Regions from separate parts of the Homo sapiens genome. Here regions 2 and 3 are each linked to region 1. Evidence: promoter capture Hi-C in 16 types of primary human blood cells and fetal thymus (Javierre and others, 2016). All regions are on one chromosome and are shown on one strand. Each heading gives the region's core, a stretch centred on a gene start or on the middle of the fragment in contact. The rest is flanking DNA. Distances are from core to core; before and after follow the strand shown. Region 1 holds the start of KIF21A (kinesin family member 21A). Region 2 overlaps KIF21A (kinesin family member 21A). Region 3 overlaps KIF21A (kinesin family member 21A).

Evidence for each region. The method cuts DNA at HindIII sites, captures the fragments that hold promoters and counts their contacts. A CHiCAGO score of 5 or more calls a contact.
Region 2: a fragment that was not itself captured here is called in contact with the fragment with the promoter of KIF21A in region 1 in 2 of 17 cell types (total CD4 T cells and naive CD8 T cells); the score reaches 5.4 in total CD4 T cells.
Region 3: a fragment that was not itself captured here is called in contact with the fragment with the promoter of KIF21A in region 1 in 1 of 17 cell types (total CD8 T cells); the score reaches 8.3 in total CD8 T cells.

What each region holds. Positions count from the first base shown.
Region 1 is chr12:39,441,684-39,444,803 of GRCh38, forward strand. It overlaps KIF21A (kinesin family member 21A), which reads right to left and starts at 1,437. Exons shown (of 38, transcript NM_001173464.2): 1 at 1,244-1,437. The coding sequence starts at 1,287. RefSeq lists enhancers at 378-447, 1,266-1,766, 2,048-2,107 and a silencer at 1,068-1,967. The HindIII fragment of the contact is 8,179 bases long and covers 1-1,949 here.
Region 2 is chr12:39,362,758-39,365,558 of GRCh38, forward strand. KIF21A (kinesin family member 21A) reads right to left here. Exons shown (of 38, transcript NM_001173464.2): 7 at 341-456. Among named protein-coding and RNA genes, the nearest start is that of KIF21A, 79 kb to the right of the region's middle. The HindIII fragment of the contact is 2,463 bases long and covers 283-2,745 here.
Region 3 is chr12:39,338,671-39,341,513 of GRCh38, forward strand. KIF21A (kinesin family member 21A) reads right to left here. Exons shown (of 38, transcript NM_001173464.2): 14 at 2,835-2,843; 15 at 2,236-2,424; 16 at 1,495-1,694. Among named protein-coding and RNA genes, the nearest start is that of KIF21A, 100 kb to the right of the region's middle. The HindIII fragment of the contact is 650 bases long and covers 1,228-1,877 here.

The DNA of each region.
Region 1 (3,120 bases), core at 187-2,686:
TTAAAAACTCATTTTATTATTTAAGTTAATTAAAGATACAAAGTATACGAAACAGCCATTACTATGCCTGACCCAAGATGTGTCACTAAAATAGTAACTATAGAAATGTTTAGAGGGGAGAATTTTTAGAATAATTTTCTGGAAAGACTACAAGACTGGGAGATTGTTAATAGTTCCTAATTCCTTGGAGTGTAGATTATTTTTATAATCCTTAAAGCATAAATAAGGAGAAGTGAATTAACAGTAGACTCTCAGAGCTGTGAAAGCCACGCACTTACTCTAGGATGAATGCTTCATTAATTTTTCACACAGTGTGATGATGTTGCAATTTTCCATGAGCAACTATCAGAGCTTTCCTTCTTGATAAGTATCAAAACAGCCGAAATTACATCGAATACTCGTGCCTGTCATTGGCCGAAATATAATTTCAATACTAGGATGTACCTAGTATTTCCAGACTCACACCCTGGCCTGGGTAACGTTACGATTACATTGTATCCACCCTGCCTAATGTCAGTATGTTTCACACAGTCACCCATTTCACCCTTCCTCTGGCTAAAGAGTTTTCCTCCTTCTGTAGACCTCTCCCCAGTGGATTTTACCTTAAATTCCACTCCCATTCCAACACCCAAGAGGCTAGATCTGTCTCCTCTACCCACACGCGGGGGCATGTCTAGATCCCCGTGATGCTGAAAAAGATGTCTCATTTGCACAGACATCAGAACCCGAGTGGGCGCGCGGCGGGCCCTGCGGTCGCCGGCGCTGATAGTCAGATGCTTTGTCTCCTGCCTGGGAAGGCCGGAGCTGCATGGACACGTATGACAGACATTCTAGAACTAATAAAAAAGAACACCACAGCCCCGCGCACAGGCAGCTCCTCCCGGACAGGCGATAGCCCAAGGCGGCCAGACCTGAGGTGACTGATCCCGCGAGGGGACGGAGGGGAGTGACGAGGGCTTTTCCCCCAGAGAAGTCAAGACGCCCCCCAGGGACCCGGCGCCGCGCAGCCGCCAGCCACCTGCAAACACAGACGGCGTGAGGGCGGCGCAGTCGCCCTGCCAGCACCCGGCCGCGCGTGCCAGGCCAGCGGGGACTCACTGCCTCAGTTTCCTCAGCCGCAGAACCCGGCCGGGACGCCCCTCAGGTCGCTCCACCCCGGTAGCCGGTGCTCCGCGCCACAGCCAGGTCCTTGCCGCGCCCTCAACCCGCCGCCCGCCGCCCGCCGCCGGCAGACTGTCCTCACCTGACAGCCACCCGCACGGAGCTCTCGTCCGGGGCGCCCAACATGCTGGCGGCGGGCAGCGATCGAGCCGTTGGGCCTCGGCACCGCAGAGCTGAGGCGCCACTGGGGCCGCGGGACTCGGGCGCAGTAGGCTGGGGCGTCTGCGGGCGGGCGGCCGGCTCACCTCCGCCGCGCTCCAGCCATGTTGGGCGACTGAATGGAAAGGTGGCGGCGGCGCTGAGGCAGCAAGAGGAGGAGGTGATTCACGGCTCGCGGGCGCCCGCCCCTTCTCCACCGCTCACCCCCCAGGATCTGGGGCGGGGACAAAGCGCGCTTGAACGGCGAGCGCGCCTGTGGAGAAGCCAACAGGCCGCCAGCGGCCTCAGGGCGGCCGGGTGAGTGCGCCCTGCCCCCTCCGGTGGGGACGCGGCCTCCCAGCGGCCAGGCTGGGGACTCCACGCCCGCCAGGGCGCTCCGGGCTCCTCGCCCCGCACTGCGTCAGCCGCCGCCGCGCGGCTCAGCCCCACCTCGCCCTCCCCCAGCCTGCGCCCCGCCCTGCCCTCGTCGGGACACTGCCTGGCGCTGCTGGGCAGGGAGGCGAGGGGGAGGGATGCCTGCCGCCGGCTGCCCTCGCCCGAGGGCGACCAGCCTGTGCGCCCTTCCAGGCTCTTCTGGGAGAAGGAAGCAGCTAGTGCACGCGCTGCTGCCAGGTCCCTTCTCAAATCGAAGCTTGATTCAGCGGCGCGCCGGGAGCCAGGCAGCTGCTGCTGCGGTTCGGCTTTGTGTCCCACGCATAGCCTTATTGTCCTCTCTGCAGCTTGGACTTTGACCCCCTTCCCTAGCCCCCAGCTGAACGCCCTCCCTCCTCCCTCCCCGGAGTCAGTCATTCATGCTAAACGGACTCCCAGGTTTGTCCACTGTCTCTGGACAGCTGGGCTGTTCTACAGTTCATCGCCCGTTTACCAGCTCGGGTGGGATATGGAAATGATTTATTCGAGACTCCTGAATGCTTTTCTGTTCAATCATTTGTACACTGGTAAATGAACTGCACCCTGGTACTGCCAAGTGTTCCCAGAACTGAATATATCCACCAAGACCTGCTGTGTAGTAAATCCTTCCAAACTGATTTTCTTTCCCTTCTGGCCTTTAAAAAGCACCTCCCAATCCCAGGATTCTCTCAACATTGACCCATTGTGGTTTCTGTTTGTCACTATTGTGCTTCCACATGCCTTCAGATAGCTCTGTGGAAACAGCCTTTATTAGCTTTGCCACAGAGTATCTTTTGTGGACTGCTCCATACATCTCTATAAACAAACATGTGGCTTCATACGAAATAGTATCACAAATTAAATGGCACTATCCAAATAAAGGCACTACCTCAAATGCCTGCAATCTACAATCACATACCTAATCATCTTGTTCAGCAGTGATACAGCAGTGTGGCTCAGAGAAGGCTGCAACACTATGGGAAAAACAAGAAGTGTTTGATGATTTAAACCCATGGGAAGGCCGATGGGGTATATAATTATAGATAGTTTTAAATTTATTCTGTCCCTTAATCTCACTACCCCTAAATCTTAACAGACATGTAACTGGGAGGTAAAGAGGGCAGAGATGCTGAGTATCCTTCTATAGATCAAATTGGTGGGAAAGCTCTCCTCTGGCTACTCTTTGGAGGGCCTTTCCTAGCCTCAAAATTTATCCATCAACAAATCAGAGCTGCATTTCACCCTGCCCTGGCAAGCCCATATCTGGGTGGATCTGGGCTGGCCACCTTGCTTCTTTTGTTGATGAAAGCTGCAAGGAAAGCAAGAATGGCCCAGCACATTTAACAAGAAAACTAAAGAGAAATTTGTATAATTAAGACCCTCTTTTTAAAAAAAGTTCTTTTTTATTTT
Region 2 (2,801 bases), core at 264-2,763, 79 kb before region 1:
GCTAAGTACTTAAAACAGAAGCTACGATAAGAGAGAAAGTCCACATACTATTGACTTCATATACAAGCTAAGTGGCCTTGAATAAATTACTTAACCTCTCTAGATTCATTTCCCTTATCTAGAAAATAGAATAATAATACCTACACCTCAAGGGATGCTAGGATTATGTGAAATAACATACAAAATTATTCACACATTTGAGATCCTTAACAGTATAAGGATTAGTTCCTCATCCTATTAGTTTGCTTTGCAATAAAAGTAGTTCTTATAAATCATCTTACAAGCTTATTTAATAATGAATAATCAAAAGTCTGAGTAGAGGATAATCATCTATGCATACCTATTACCCCCGAGGGAATCCTGTAGTAGTCTTGTTAGCTTGGAATCTCTATAGGGGACATGTGTGGCCCTCTTGCTCTTGTCTCCCAAGGCACTTATTACATTGCCAAGTGCCAACTAAAAGAAAGAGAAAGAAAGACAGCAAAATGATACAAATTTACTAATTATAACAATTTTAAATAAAGAAAGTTTACAGAGAATAATATAGAGACATAATATAATTAAGAATATTTGTGTTTGGTTTTGTTTTACATTTGTAACCAATGTCACTGAAAATTTAGTACATATATATTAGTACTATATATAATACCGTATGTATATATTAGTACTATAGTACTAATAGTACTAATTCTTTGAAACAGAAATAAGATTGACAACTTTAGTTACCCCTAGAATTATCAGAGCATCAGGTTATGTCCCCAGAAAATTGTCCATTCATGTTACGCATTCTTCTCCTCAACTCAATGTAAAAATAAAATGTTTAGTTAGTTTAACAGTTTGATGCAAATTTTCGTTTTGCAATACAGTTCCCACGGGAAAAGAAAACCTTCTTTAATCACAACAAAAAAAATCAGTATTATTTCTCTGAACAAGGTATTCCTATGCAAGTATATCTATCCTTAGACATACAATAAGATGGGCTGGGTGCAGTGGCTCATTCCTATAATCCCAGCACTTTGGGAGGCCAAGGTGGGGGGATCACCTGAGGTGAGGAGTTTGAGACCAACCCGACCAACATGGGGAAACCCCATCTCTACTGAAAATACAAAAATCAGCTAAGCGTGGTGGTGTGTGCCTGTAGTCCCAGCTACTTGGGAGGTTGAGGCAGAAGAATAGCTTGAACCTGGGAGGTGGAGGTTGCAGTGAGCTGGGATTGCACCACTGCATTCCAGCCTGGGCAACAGAGTGAGACCCCGCCTCAAAATAAATAAATAAATACAATAATATATGTGTTAGCATCCAATTATTTAAAAACTAGTCAAATTACAGAACTCTGTAGTCACTCCTGCCACCCTGCTGTTTTTCCTACTGTCACTGAATTATCACCTACAAGATAAACATTATCCAAAATGTTGTTCACACTGGCCATCAGTAATGCAAACATCTATAACCATGACTTTGTTAGGAAAAATAGATCATGCAGGGAGTGGCAACAGGATCACACTTTTTCATCATTCCCCCTTTCCAGAGCAGCTACTGTCATAAGCAATGGTAATACTGAAACTCTACTAGATATGTCTCAACATGCTTCAAGAGCCTAAAGAGGAAAACAAAGCAATGGCTTTTGTCTTTTCCTGACAACATAAATGTAAATACCACCATGATTATATCTCCTAAGAAACTCAAAACAATGCAAGAAGTCCAGAATCCAGGCATGCCATTTTATACAACATTCACCCACATGTCGGACCATCAAGATGAGTATTGGAGTTGGAAGGTCTGGCTCTCTCTAATCAGGCTTGGTTGGTAATTTCCCCATAGACGGATCATAATCATATAGGAGTAAATATTGGGGGGTGATTAATGGGAGGAAAGCAGACACCACACACTCTATAACTGCCTTTGCAAAATTCATATCAGTGAGACAAGTATGACAGTGAGGGAAATCTGACCTAATCCACTCCATCTTGCCTTTAATCTCTAAATTGCCCTTGTTCATTCCTATGCTGAGCTAACTAAAGGAGGAATTTATAGTTTAAAGAATTTTGAAAAGATGATAACAACCTTTTCCTGAAACAAACCTCTTCTTCCCTGGGGACCAGCATGCCTTTGTAAAACTAACAAATTAGCCACAAGATTATTAGAAATTATGATTTAAGAGTCATGCAGCTAGAGACCACGAGATTCCCAGCCTCCCCAATTGCTCCTATGGATAAGATGACTATTGTAAAACCTAAGATTGATGTTTGGATATTTTTTTAGACCCTGCATTCTGATGCACCAGCTGACACCATGCAGACTGGTAATCTGGCTCAAGCAGTTCTGTAATCCCACCCTGGAACAGAAGACAGCAAGAAGAATCCACTTAGACCCCATATGATTTAACCTCCACTCCCCACTCCCTTAGCCCCCTCATTCACCAAATTATACTTTAAAAACTGCAGTCTCTGAATTTTTGGAGAGACTAATTTGAGTAATAAAACTCCAGTCTTCCATTTAGCTGGCTCTGTGTGCATTAAACTTTTTCTCTATTGCAATTCCCCTGTCTTGATAAATCAGCTCTATCTGGGCAGCAGGCAAAAAGAATCCCTTGGGTGGTTACAACTCTGATGCTATTGGTGTCGCAGAAATTTAGGGATGTCATTACATTTGTGCAGGTACAAATATCCAGTTTTGTAATGAAGATAATAAGAACAAATTTAAAACACAAAACTTTGCTCTAAAATATTTCCTTCCATGTAATGAAGCTTTATGCTAACTAAATCACAAGGAGTTTTCCAATCAAAATGCCACTAGGTGGC
Region 3 (2,843 bases), core at 303-2,802, 100 kb before region 1:
ATCACATTAAAGCAAGTCACACAAATTTATTTGGTTTCCCAGCGCATATAAAGTTATGTTTATGCTATACAGTAGTCTATTAGGTGTGCAATAGCATCATGTCTAAAAAAATAATGTGCATGCCTTAATCAAAAAACTTAATTGTTAAAAGAAACATGCTGACAGAGACATGAAGTGAGCAAATGCTGTTGGAAAAATAGTGCCAACAGACATCCTCAAGGCAGGGTTGCCACAAACATTCAATTTGTAAAAAATGCAATATCTGCAAAGGGTAATAAAGCAAATCACAGTAAAATCAGGAATGCCTGTAAAAGTATACAAGTTTTGGCTGGGCACAGTGGCTCATGCCTTTAATCCCAGCACTTTGGGAGGTCGAGGTTAGTGGATCAGCTGAGGTCAGGAGTTTGAGACCAGCCTGACCAATATGGTGAAACCCTGTCTCCACTAAAAATACAAAAATTAGCTGGGCATGGTGGTGTGCACCTATAGTCCCAGCTACTGGGGAGGCTGAGAAAGGAGAACTGCTTGAACCTGGGAGGTGGGCAACAGAGCGAGACTCCCTCTCAAAAAAAAAAAAAAAAGTGTACCATTTTTTTATCTTTTTTACTGTATTTTTTACAATACCTTTTCTATGTTTAGATATGTTTAGATACACAAATATTTAGCATTGTGTTAAAATTGCCTAGAGTATTCAGCATAGTAACATGCTGTACAGGTTTGTAGCCTAGGAGCAACAGGCTATACCACATAGCCTAGGTGTGTAGTAGGCTATACCATCGTGGTTTGTATAAGTACACTCCATGATGTTTGCACAATAATGAAATCACCTAAAAATGCATTTCTCAGAATGTACCATCATTAAGCAATGCATGATTATACTTTCTAAATCACTTCCATATTTGCTATTTTATTGTTATTTTAAGAAAACTACACTGACTTTCATGAAAGATGTAAAGAATAATTAATCAAAAACAGATAACAGATCAGGATTTGCACACTCTCTTTGGACAGGGGAAGAAAATTAGTGCTTCTCTAAGTATAGGAATTATAAACACTAAATTTAAGACAGTTATTAGCTATTGGAGAATGGGGAATATGATCAGGAAGAGATAAACAGAAGGCTTACTGTATATCTGTAATGCTTAATATTTTAAACTAGACTGTGGATACAGTGTTTGTTATTATGTATGCTTTCTTGCATATTTGAAATATTTTATACTTTTGTTAAGCTTGCATAAGAGTTTTAAGAGAAGAAATACCTATCAATGTCTAAGAAGCCCTGATGAGCACATGATTTTCAGCTACTCTGAAGAAAGGCTTGGATGAGGAATGACTATTAGAAACAACTTCTAATTGCCAAAGGAAATTACATCATTTGTAAGATTGGGTTACCTTTATCGAATATGGAAAGAACCACAAGAGTTGTTTATTTTTTGTCCCAAATGACAAAATCATACTGAACATCAAACGTTAATGGAAAAAAATAATCAATACCTTTGTTTTTTTCATTTCCATCACATCCTGCTGCAATTTCTTCAATTGCTTTTCATACTGAGACTGATTTTTAAGCAACCTTGCATGTTCTTTTTGAGCTGCTTGAAGTCTCTGCAGTTCTTTGTTCATGGCTTGGAGTTTCTTTTCATATTCAGACCTAACTTTTTTTGCTTTTTCTTCTGAGTAAGATTCTACCGAGCCTAAATGACCAGAGGACATTTTTATATGTTTTTTTGTGAGACACAGATTTTTATTTCACAGATTTACAGTCCATATCCTAAGAGAAGAGCTACTTCCCAAACACCCACATCTCAGAAGACTAGGGTGTCTTTCAATCATTCTCTCTTTTATTATCTACTCTTAACCTGTTTAATGATTATTGAAGCTTATTTATTAATATGTTATGTTAAAATGTCCCCAACATAAATCAAAACATTAAAACAACCATAAATTTGTATAAAGTAAGTAAACAGCCTAGGCAGATATCGGTATGAAAAAACAAAACAAATAACAATATTTAACATTATGAGACAAATTAACATATAATGTGGCCAAAAAGTATTTACAAGCTACATATAACTTTTAAATAAAAGGCACAAACTTTGACTTGCAAAAACAAAACAAATAAATAACAAAAAAGGGTTTAATACGGCTTCTATTTTTTTTCTTCTAAAGGAAAAGATAAAAACCCATTTTGAAGATTTAGCTTGAACTTTCATTTGAATTAAATATAATTCTTACCTAAGTTTTGAAGCACCTGGTCTCTTTCAAGCTGAGTATCCCGAATTTTATGTTGCAGCATCATTAGCTTCTCTTCATACTGCTTTTTCAGAGTCTGCAGTCTTTTCTGGCTGTTTTCTAGTTCATCAATCAGCTTTTGCTTAATTGCAATTTCACAAGTAATGTTTGCCAAGTCTGCTTGATAATTGGCTATTTATAAAAGAAGAAAATAAAAATCCTGGTGCTAGGCCAAAATATCAGAATTCTAGCTTTCAAGCAGACCATAAAAACCATCAACTAGGTATTTTTATTCACTTAGTAGTTATTAGAAAAATTTCCTGGAAAAACCAACAACCAAAAGGTGAATGAGATAAAGAGTGTTCATTTTGGTCAAGGACAATGCTATTTGTATTAGGTAAGAATGGAAATCACACAATGACTAAATCCAGTAAGAGAAGTAACTCATTTGTTTAGCACATAAGCCTTGGAAGGCAAATGTAGGTCAGTGGTCACAGAAGTTTCTTTCATCAAGTATGAAATAGAGAATGTTAAGAGTTTTCTGTCATGGTTTAAACAACTTCCCAAAATGAATTTTTGCCCTTATACCAAAGGGCAAGTACCTTTTTCAT